Linked DNA regions of Homo sapiens: all the other regions are linked to region 1. Evidence: promoter capture Hi-C in 16 types of primary human blood cells and fetal thymus (Javierre and others, 2016). All regions are on one chromosome and are shown on one strand. Each heading gives the region's core, a stretch centred on a gene start or on the middle of the fragment in contact. The rest is flanking DNA. Distances are from core to core; before and after follow the strand shown.

Region 1 (3,612 bases), core at 290-2,789:
TCAGGTCTCAGAACCTTAGCTTCTGGGAATTGGAAATAATTCCTACCTGAAAGGGTTACTAGGATTTTTTTTTTTTTTTTTTTTTTTTGAGACGGAGTCTCGCTCTGACGCCCAGGCTGGAGTGCAATTGCGAGATCTTGGCTCACTGCAACCTCCGACCCCTGGGTTCAAGCGATTCTCCTGCCTCAACCTCCCAAGTAGCTGGGATCACAGGCATGCGCCACCACTATGCCAGGCTAATTTTGCATTTTCAGTACAGCCAGGGTTTTGCCATGTTGGTCAGGCTGGTCTCGAACTCCTGACCTCAGGTGATCCACCCACCTAGGCCTCCCAAAGTGCTGGGATTACAGGTGTGAGCCACCGCACCCGGCCAGTTACTAAGATTTCATCAGCTAGCATAGACTGGGATTCCGGCCTATTGCCTAGTGCATAGTACTGATTCGTCAAAATACTGGTTTTCCAAATCTACCAACACATCTGGGACAAGAAGTTTGGATCTCAGCTGTGGGACCCGTGCTCGTGGTGCTTGGGTGGGCAGGAGGGCAGGGACTTACCTTGGCCTCCTCCAGGGCCACTGGTGACTCTGCATTACAGGCGGTCTGGTTCGGAGTGGCCATCATCTTCTGTTCCAAATCTTTCAGCAGACGCCTGGAACTAGTGACACCTGCTTTGAACAACAACAGAAACCTAAATCCTGAAGGAACGTCAGGAATACTCTGGCTGCCCAGAATTGTTTGCCCAGGCAGTGGCAGCCATTTTGTACCCCAGCCCTTCATACCCTTATTCTCAAATGCAGGCCCCGAAGGCTGCCTCCACCGCTGGTTTTCACACCTCCAGCCAGCAAGGGGCCAAATGGGATTCAGGGGCCGTCTTCTCTGTCCTGCTCCTCGGGTCCCTCACCAGGACTCATGTCCTGTACTGTCCTCCTGGAAGTCACCGAGGCCCAGGTTGGCAGCCAGGAAGCCAGGTGTAAGTTTTGTTTCCCCAACCACCAAAGGGGCAAAGGAGGACTGCCTGGGGAGGCTGGGAGTGCAGCGGGGCTGCTGCTGCCACGGGAGAACATGGAGCAAGCTCACGAGTCCTTCCCCACTGTCTCCAGTGGCCCCAATCTTGATGCAGCCCTGCACCCCCAACCTTCTCCCCAAGCTGGGCTCCAAAGGCCAGAAGCACAGCTGGGACCTGGGCCAGCCTAGTGCTGAGGACTTTTCCTCTAAGGTCCTGGCCTGCCTCCCTCCTTCCTCTCAGAAAGGGAAACAGGAGAAAAGGGGAAAGAGGTCTTTGCACTACATGCAGCTGGGAGGGAAACCCAACTAGGATAAGGATGGATTTCTTGGAAGAAGGGAGACAGTCATGGAAAGAGGTTTTGCAAAGGTGGAACTGACCTATTCGCTGTCAAGGGCTATGCACACCACTACATCTGTGTGCCTTTCTGTGCGACTGCCTGTCGGTGCAATTCCCAACGCCTGAGCCCTACCTCTTGCTGCAGTTGCAGCAGCTCTGGTCAAGCCGCTCAGGCCACTAAGATGGGGGGGAAGAGAGAGCCTGGACGCGCGGTGCCTGCTGGGGATTGTAGTTCTTCTGGCCTGAAAAGCGATCCAAGGGCCTGTAACGTCAACAGCCACACCCGAGACTCCAAAACCCATCTACCCTTGCGCGGGGGCAGACCGCGCGCGCATCACTGCCTTCTTTGATTGGTCAAGCCTTCTGCCAATATTCTCGCTTTTTTGGCAACGATTAGCTGTGAGGAGGCACAACTGGACCCGCCTTCTCCGAACTCAATTAAAGAGTTCATTGATGGCGTTAATCTTTACGGGGCAGAAAATAGATCCGGCTAAGGTGGGCGGGGCAGCAGGCGCGGAGGGATCCTTGGCCTTTGAGGAAGGCGACGAGAAGCTCGGCGGCCATCGCCGCCATTTTGGGCTGGGAGGAGGCAGCGGAGGGACTCGCTGCGCAGTGAGAGCACCCCGTGGGGGGTGGTCCGGGCGCGGGGAGAGGCCGGGCCGAGTGGGCTACCTGAAGTGGCGGCGCCGGGAGACGGCGGGAAGTGGGACCGGGGGCCAGGGAGGGTGAAGGTTGGAGTCTCCTCGGCCGAGCCCGGTCCTCAAACCGTCCCGGCAGCCCCGCAGCCTCGCCTCTCACAGAGTGCGGGGTTCTTCGGTAATTACCGCGTGTTTCCCGAGACCCCAGAAGGGGAGAGGCTGGTGAAACGGCTTCCCTCTGCGGTCTTTCCACAGGGGCGCGGATCCTGAGGCCGAGCTCTGCCAGCTTCCCTCCCCACCCCCATTCGGCCTGGGTATGGCGGCGAGGCCCCGCACAGAGGGACTCCCACTTCGACTGGAGAGGTGGGGGCGACGCCAGATTCCAGAGGCTGGCGCCGCGGGGGAGGGCGGAGGTCGCAGGTCTGGCCACAAGTCGGCGTGGCAGTCAGCTGGAGGCTCCGAGAGCGGAGATCCCAGTGCACCCACCTTACCTCGCTTACACCAAAGCGCCATCTCGCCGCCCGGGTTGCGAAAAACCACGACCCTCTTAAACTACTGTAGCAACCACTAATTCCCCCTGGGAGCAGCTAGAGAGGGGCACTTGGAAACCTTCACGAGCTCGGTGCCTGAAGGTCTCTGAGGCTCTTGCCCTCAAGATCTCTCCCATTCAGCCCCGATTCTCCGGACAACCTGACCTAGCATGTCGCCAGCCTCTTGGTGAAACGCCTAAAGTGTGCTGCCCCACTTCTCTTGAAAGTTTACACCGAAGGGATGAGGTTTTGCCCTTTACAGGGTTGGGGCACAAAGTCGGAGTCGCTGCGGCTCCGAAATAGAAACGGAGTTGCCCATTTCGTATGCTTCATCAACATCTGCTTGCATTTTGAAATCCTAGTCTTAACTTTTACACAACTTTTAGAGAAATGGCTGCCCTCCTAGAGGGAAAAACGAACTACAGTAATTCCAATTCCAATGTAATCTTTGTAAGACTACAAAATCTTTCCAGTTTAAAGATTTTTCTTTTCCCACAGACTAAACAAAGTCAGAGTATTTTGTGTTCTACTGGTGCATTGTTACTAGGTAACCTCAATTTTTTGAAATTCCAAGTAATTGAAGGATCACTTTTGTAGATCCTAAATGCTACCAAAAAAGAAACCAGTTTTTATCTACTTCATATGTATAGCGTTTAAGAGATGAGGAGACCTGCTTTGAAAGAATAAACTCTTAACCTTACATTATAGCTGTAGCAGCTTCTTAAAGATTGAAGTTTGATGTGAAGTTCTTTTATTGAATTGCAGGTTAAACCATCTTACTTCCTACTGCTTGAAATCTAAATCCAGAGAGATTTGTGGCTCAAGGATATCTTCAAATAAAAGTTTTATTGCTAAAATGTCAGTTAAAATTATGCCTAGGTAGGTGCTGAAGTAGGAGAGGCTTTGACGTAGCAGAGTGACTGGCAGTGAATTTTGTGGGTACCTTGTGATGAGTCTTATTATCAGTTACAAATGGTCAAAACATGCCTAAGCCTTCAGCCTTACTAAAAGTTTAACAGAACTTGGCCTGGCGCGGTGGCTCACACCTGTAATCCCAGCCCTTTGGGAGGTGGAGGCGGGTGGATCACCTGAGGTCAGGAGTT
Region 2 (3,612 bases), core at 641-3,140, 240 kb before region 1:
AGTTTGGTGAAAAATGAATTTTTTTTTTTTTTTGGCATCTGCCTAAGGCTCAGGGAGAGACCACCCTGAACAGGTGCTTCCTCTTTCGAGGAGTTTACAGCTTAGTGATGGTGTCACAGTCAGCAGAGGAACTTCTGTGAATTTTTAAAAGTTTTGTAGTACAAAATTTTGAGGCTGCAGGAAAGTTCAAAGAAAACAAAACAAAAACAAACCCCTATAATCACAGTGCTCAGAAGGGACCTCTGTTAGCATTTTGGAAAGTTTCCGAAAACACAAAATTGAAATGTGGAAATCTGCTTTCCCCTGAAGTATTGTGTATGCTTAGAAAATAGTAGTAATTGGCCAGGTGCGGTGGCTCACACCTGTAATCCCAGCACTTTGGGAGGCCCTGGTGGGCGGATCACCTGAGGTCAGGAGTTCAAGACCAGCCTGGCCAACAGGGCAAAACCCCATCTCTACTAAAATACAAAAATTAGCCAGGCGTGGTGGTGCGTGCCTGCAATGCCAGCTACTTGGGAGGCTGAGGCATGAGAATCGCTTGAACCCAGGAGGCGGAGGTTGCAGTGAGCCGAGATCACACCATTCCACTCCAGTCTGGACGACAGAGCGAGACTCCATCTCAAAAAAAAAAAAAGAAAAAAAAGAAAAAGAAAAAGAAAAGAAAAGAAAATAGTAGTAATCTCCGTATGCCATGCTGCTGCCTGGGGTTTGAGAATGTAGTCATCTGTCCCTCTGTGGGGCCAAGGGTGCTGGGCTGAATGTGGGGGCACGGGGATGGGGGGAATCTCAGGAAAAGGCTGGAACCTGGCACCTCAGCTGAATCCTGAAGAAGGAATTGGAGTCAGCCAGGCAAAAAAAGGGGTGGAGATGGGCCTGGGCAGGCTGCAGATGAGCCTAGGCCTGGAGGAAACACAGCAGGGACGGTGGGGACCTCTAGCAACTGGTGCTACTGGAGCTTAAAGTTCAAGGCAAGGGGCAAGGAGTGGCAGGAAATAATAGTGGAAGCACAGGCCGGTGAGGGACGGTCTCTTGTGCCTGGTTAAGGGCTTAGACTTTGCCCTGCAGCCAGCAGGGAGCTCTGAGGTGTGAATCAGGAGAGCCTCTGTTCCGGGAGGCTTACGCATGGCTAGGTTTATGTTCTATGTGATTGAACCCCCAGCTGCCCTCACTCTCCTTTGGGGTGGAGTAAAACAATTCACCTCTCTTTGCCCCTCCATTCTCCAGCCCATCTGGCTGTCCTGTCTCCCTCTCTTGTCTGGAATTGGTTCTGACACCTGCAAACTTCACCTTGGAAAGTTCAGTCCCCAAATCCAGACAGGGTGCTGATTCCAATCCCAGAGCTTTCTGGGCTGAGAGTGGGGTGGGGTGGGAGCTCTCAGTGGAGCTGTAAGAATGCAGCTTGAATCCAGGAGGTGGTGGTTGCAGTGAGCCAAGATTGCGCCACTGCACTCCAGCCTGGGTGACAGAGCTAGACCCCATCTCAAAAAAAAGAATGCAGCAGGGCCCTGAATGGGCACCATAAACAGGGGCACGCCCCAGACCACTTCTCAGTTCCTGCCCAACCTCTGACTTGCCTCTGTGAGTGCACAGTTGTGAGAACTGGGTTATCGATGTTTTATTATTATTGATAAATATAATTAATGTAATTGACCCACCCGTCTGGGGCACTAAATACTTTACAAAGTACTTTCAAGAGCATTTCCTCATTCACTCTTCACTACAGTTTCCGGAATGGACAGAGCAGACATTTTACACCCAGGAAACTGAGGCAGAGAGGTAGTGTGACTTCCTGAAGGTCGCCCAAGGGGCTAAAGCTCAAGAAGAGGCCACTTCTAACAGGCACTTCCCCTTTCAAGGAGTTTACGGCTTAGTGATGGTGTCACAGTGAGCAGAAGAACTTACGTGATTTTTAAAATGCTTTGTTGTACAAAATTTTGAGGCTGCAGAAAAGTTTAAAGAAAATAAAGCGAAAACAAATAAACCCCTATAATCGCACTGCCCAGAGGGGACCTCTGTTACCATTTTGGAAGGTTTCTGAAAACACAAAATTCCTCCTTTCTCCTCCCGCAGGTGGACGACCCACCGGAGCCCGTGTACGCGAACATAGAGAGGCAGCCCCGGGCCACTTCACCGGGCGCCGCTGCAGCCCCCCTTCCCAGCCCGGTGTGGGAGACGCACACGGACGCGGGCACCGGGCGCCCCTACTACTACAACCCAGACACGGGAGTTACCACCTGGGAGTCGCCCTTTGAGGCTGCCGAGGGTGCCGCCAGCCCAGCCACCTCCCCTGCCTCGGTGGACAGCCACGTGAGCCTTGAGACCGAGTGGGGCCAGTACTGGGATGAGGAGAGCCGCAGGGTGTTCTTCTACAACCCGCTGACGGGCGAGACGGCCTGGGAGGACGAGGCCGAGAACGAGCCCGAGGAGGAGTTGGAGATGCAGCCGGGCCTGAGCCCTGGCAGCCCAGGGGACCCGCGGGTGAGGGGCAGGGCCAGAGTGGGCGGTTCTACCTCTGAGCGCCTCTGATCCCGCCTCCTGCTCCCAGAGGCCCAGGGACACACGGGTGAGGGGGTGGTGATGGGTGGGCGGGGCTACCTCTGAGAGCCTTTGACCCCTTCTCCTGCTCCCACAGACCCAGGGACCCCAGGGTGAAGGGCGGGGCTGGAGTGGGCGGGGCTACCTCTGAGCGCCTTTGACCCCACCTCCTGCTCCCACAGACCTAAGGACCAGAGGGTGAGGGGTGGGGCAGGATGGGTGGGGCTACCTCTAAGCGCTTCTGACCCCGCCTCCTGTTTCTGCAGACCCAGGGACCAGAAGGTGAGGGGCAGGGCTGGAGTGGGCGGGGCTACCTCTGACGCCTTCTGCTCCCACAGCCCCAGGGACCAGAGGGTGAGGTGCGGAGCTACCTCTGAGCGCTTCTGACCCCGCCTCCTGCTCCCACAGCCTCAGGGACCAGAAGGCAAGGGGGTGGGCCTGGTCCAAAACGGCAGGGCCAGCAGGCAGTACTGGCACTCAGAGCCTCTGACTCCACCTTCTGTTCCCCGCAGCCCCCCACTCCCGAGACGGACTACCCCGAGTCGCTGACCAGTTACCCCGAGGAGGACTATTCTCCCGTGGGCTCTTTCGGTGAGCCCGGCCCTACCTCTCCCTTGACCACACCCCCCGGCTGGTCTTGTCATGTCAGCCAGGACAAGCAGATGCTCTACACCAACCACTTCACTCAGGAGCAGGTAGGGGCAGGGGGCAGATGGACCCGGACAGCCTCAGAGTCCTCCCCACAACCTTCCTCACTAATAGGTCGCCTCAGTGCTCTAAACCGCAGCTCCCACACAGAGCCTAAACCAGCCAAACACAGTCACCTGCACCTGCCCCTCCAGACTCCCTGGTGCTGTCTTGGAACCTGGTTAGAGGGAAACTTTTCCTCCCCTCTCATAAGCTGGGCTGGAGGCCCTGACCATTCCTCTCCCCACAGTGGGTGAGGCTGGAGGACCCCCACGGGAAGCCATACTTCTACAATCCAGAGGACTCCTCTGTTCGATGGGAGCTGCCCCAGGTAACAACCTGGGGAAAGGGGGGTGTTGGGGAGAGAGGAAGAGATCATATACGACTGTG
Region 3 (3,612 bases), core at 432-2,931, 210 kb before region 1:
CATGCCACTGCACTCCAGCCTGGGTGACAGAGCAACACTCTGTCTCAAAAAGAAAAAAAAAATCTTGGAGACCTTTCTAAACCAGTACCTAACAAGCTTCCTCATTTTTTTTTTAACAACTTCATTGAGATATGATATAATTTACATAAAACACATCCATTGTAAATGTACTATTCAACAGTTTTTTTTTAAATGTATAGAGTTGGGCAGCTATCACCACAAGCCAGTTTTATAACATTGCCATCATCCCCCAAAGTCCTGTTGGATCCATCTGCAGTGAATCCTCACAGCCATCCCAGCTCCAGCAATGACAGATTTGCTTTCTCTACAGATTTGTGTTTTCTGGAAATTTCATATAAATGGAAGCACACAATATGTGGTCTTTTGTGTCTAGCTTCTTTTACTGAGCATAATATTTTTGAAGTTCATCTATGTCGTAGCTCATTTAAGAAGTTTGTTCCTTTTTTGCTTTTTGTTTTTTGTTTTTTTGATACCGAGTCTCACTCTGTCGCCAAGGCTGGAGTGCAGTGGTGCGATCTCGGCTCACTGTAACCTCCACCTCCCAGGTTCAATCGATTCTTGTGCCTCAGCCTCCTGAGTAGTTGGGACGACAGGCGTGCGCCACCACTCCCGGCTAATTTTTGTATTTTTAGTAGAGATGGTGTTTCACCATGTTGGCCAGGCTAGTCTCAAACTCCTGGCCTCAGGTGATTCACCTGCCTCGACCTCCCGAAGTGCTGAGATTACGAATGTGAGCCACTGCGCTCGGCCAGTTTGTTCCTTTTTATTGCTGAGTAGTATTACACTGAATGGATATTTCACATTTTGTTTATCCAGTTACCAGCTTTTGCATATTTGGATGATTTACAGGGTTTTTAAAATGTACAATGCTGCTATGAGCATTCAGGTCTTTGTGTGGCCACATTTTTACTTCTCTTGGGTAGTTTCTGTTTAACTTTTTAAGCAACTGCCAAGCTGTTTTCCAAAGTGGCTGCATCATGTTACATTCCCAACAGCAATGTATGAGGCTTCCACTTTCTCTACATTCTCCACCACACTTGTTATTATTATCTGTCTTTTTGATTATAGCCATCCTGGTGGGTTTGAAATGGTATCTCATTGTGGTTTTAATTTGCATTTTTCAAATAACAAATTGAAATTGAACATTTTTGTGTGCTTATTAACCATTCTTTTTTATTATTGTTAGGAGAGAGAGGGTTTTCCTCTGTCACCCAGGCTGGAGTGCAGTGGCACAATCATAGCTCACTGCAGCCTTGAGCTTCTGAGCCCAAAAGATCCTCCTGCCTCAGCCTCCTGAGTAGCTGGGACTATAGATACACACCACTATATCGGCTAATTTTTTTTTTTTTTTGTAGAGATGGGGTTTTGCTATGTTGACCAGGCTGGTCTCAAACTCCTGGCCTCAAGCAATCCTCCTGCCTCGGCTCCTGAAGTGCTGGGATTACAGGCATGTGTCACAATATCCTGAGCCATGCCAGCCCATATATTTTCTTTGAAAAAAATGTCTATTAGAGTCTTTCATCTTTTTTTTTTTTTTGCAGCGGGAGTTTTGTGGTGGCGGTGGGGGAGTCTTGCTCTGTTGCCCAGGCTGGAGGGTAGTGGCACAACCTTGACTCACCACAACCTCTGCCACCTGGGTTCAAGCGATTCTCCTGCATCAGCCTCCTAAGTAGCTGGGATTACAGGCGCCTGCCAGCACACCTGGCTAGTTTTTGTAATTTTAGTAGAGATGGGGTTTCACCATGTTGCCCAGGCTGGTCTCAAACTCCTAGCCTCAAGCAATCCACTTGTCTCGGCCTCCCAAAGTGCTGGGATTACAGACATGAGCCACCACGCCTGGGTTGTTTTGTCCATCTTTACATTTAGTTGTTTGTCTTCTTATTATCGAGTTATAAGACATCATTTTAAAAAATAGGTCAGTCATAGTTGATTGTATGCATGGGACGTCATTTGTTTAACTTGTTTCCTATTGATATCTCTTAAAATTTTCGTTTTATACGTATTTTTATAATAGGCATAATATATTAATGCAATAGTTTATGTTCCTGACATAAATAAGCAAATACAATTGGAATACATCCTCAAGTTAGTTTGCTGAGAGGGATCATTAAGGCCTGGTGACCCCTGACCTGAGCCTTCCTCCCCCTCCCCCCTCTCCCCGCCTGCCCCACCCCGTCCATCAGGCCCTTTCTAGCAATCTCAAGGTTTGTAGAAACCTTGTTAAAAGCCCTCTTTCCTGGCAGCCTCTGACCTCCAAAAAGTCTGATTGGGATCCCCTAACTGATGAGGGAGGCTGAGGCTGAGGGAGTCCACCCAGGGTAACATCGGCACGGTCTGAATCACAGGGCTTTCTGGAATGACCCAGAGGCCACCCCTTCCTTAATTTGGGAAGCTCCAGGCTAGAGGACATGATGAGTGTTCATGCTGAGGTTCTCCTGAGTCCAGCAGCGTGAGGCGAGCTCAGAGCCCAGGAGTGTGGTTCGGGATGGTGCTGCCCTCAGCCCCCATGCTGCGTCCTGACCCCCCGCCCATCCATCTGCCCAGCCTGTCAATGTGGACTCACACACACCTGGTGTCACCTCAGAGCAATCCAAAGTAAAAGACCCTGCTGGTCCATGTCTCCCCTCCTGGTGGTTCCTTCATCTCCATTATCTTCTTCTTCATCATCCTCATTGTCACCACGTACTGCAGACATGTCCCATGCCTGTAAGTGACTTCTGGGATACTGTTTAATCCTCCAACAAATCCTACGAGCTGGAGCTTATTAGTTCTCTATTGCAGAAGAGAAAACTGAGGCTCCGGGAGGCTATGGGACTTCTCTGTCCCATCTTAGCAACAGAGGTGGAATCCACAGTCCACACCTTTGACTGGGACATGGCCCTACCCACCCTTCAGGGGCTGAGAACTGGCGCAGACTCAGCCTTCAGCTGATTTTCACCTGATTCTTAGCAGACGTCTTGGAAAAACCTCCTGGTGACATAATAAGAGCAGTGTGGCTCCAGGGTCGGGGAGGAATTTAGGGGGTGAGAATTGGGGGTGCCCCCCCTTGCCCTGAGCCAGGGCAGCTGCAGAGAAAGTACTATTCAGGGCAGGGCAGGAATGGACCCTGGAGAGCCTGAGGGTCCCACAGGGAGAGCACGCTGTCTACCCCCAGCACAGCCCCCGCCTCTCCTGGGGCTCAGCAGGCAGAGGGGAGAGGGCAGGTTCAGCCCAGAGAAGAGGGACTGTCACAGGTACCAAGCTTGTCTACTTTGGCAGGAGAAAGCTAAGGTCTGTAATCACACTTTCTGTTTTCACTTTTCTTCCATTTCTGAGTAAGCATTTCTATTGGAAAACTCCAGACTTGTCTGAGCTCAACGAAAGGAAAAGGGATCTGTGGGCACCCAGAGCAGGCCAGGGGTGGGGGTGGGGAGCCGGGCCCCTGAGTGGGTAGTATGCGTTTCCAGGGGCTCAGATCTGATGATCCCATCCTTGGCTCCACAAATTCAATCCATGCCCCTTAGCTTGGCATTCGAGGCCTTTCCTTCATCTGGCTTCAGCCCCTGCTTCTCTCTGGCTTACATCCAGGTTTCTGCTCACATTGTTCCCTAT

The links. The method cuts DNA at HindIII sites, captures the fragments that hold promoters and counts their contacts. A CHiCAGO score of 5 or more calls a contact.
Region 2: a fragment that was not itself captured here is called in contact with the fragment with the promoter of HEXIM2 in region 1 in 5 of 17 cell types (neutrophils, fetal thymus, non-activated CD4 T cells and 2 more); the score reaches 9.9 in neutrophils.
Region 3: a contact is called between a fragment that was not itself captured here and the fragment with the promoter of HEXIM2 in region 1, in 2 of 17 cell types (monocytes and neutrophils). The highest score is 5.8, in monocytes.

Annotation. Positions count from the first base shown.
Region 1 is chr17:45,159,802-45,163,413 of GRCh38, reverse strand. HEXIM2 (HEXIM P-TEFb complex subunit 2) reads right to left here and starts at 1,539. Exons shown (of 4, transcript NM_001303441.2): 1 at 1,383-1,539; 2 at 779-926; 3 at 555-664. The coding sequence starts at 620. HEXIM2-AS1 (HEXIM2 antisense RNA 1) reads left to right here and starts at 1,876. Exons shown (of 3, transcript NR_186789.1): 1 at 1,876-1,953. RefSeq lists enhancers at 1,300-1,429, 1,440-1,639, 1,057-1,672, 1,790-2,019, 1,673-2,288 and 1 more. The HindIII fragment of the contact is 38,888 bases long and covers 1-3,612 here.
Region 2 is chr17:45,404,542-45,408,153 of GRCh38, reverse strand. It overlaps ARHGAP27 (Rho GTPase activating protein 27), which reads left to right. Exons shown (of 20, transcript NM_001282290.2): 5 at 2,071-2,478; 6 at 3,048-3,230; 7 at 3,473-3,553. Among named protein-coding and RNA genes, the nearest start is that of ARHGAP27, 27 kb to the left of the region's middle. The HindIII fragment of the contact is 9,114 bases long and covers 1-3,612 here.
Region 3 is chr17:45,366,290-45,369,901 of GRCh38, reverse strand. LOC105371796 (a long non-coding RNA gene) reads left to right here and starts at 3,380. Exons shown (of 3, transcript XR_934786.3): 1 at 3,380-3,612. The HindIII fragment of the contact is 3,166 bases long and covers 99-3,264 here.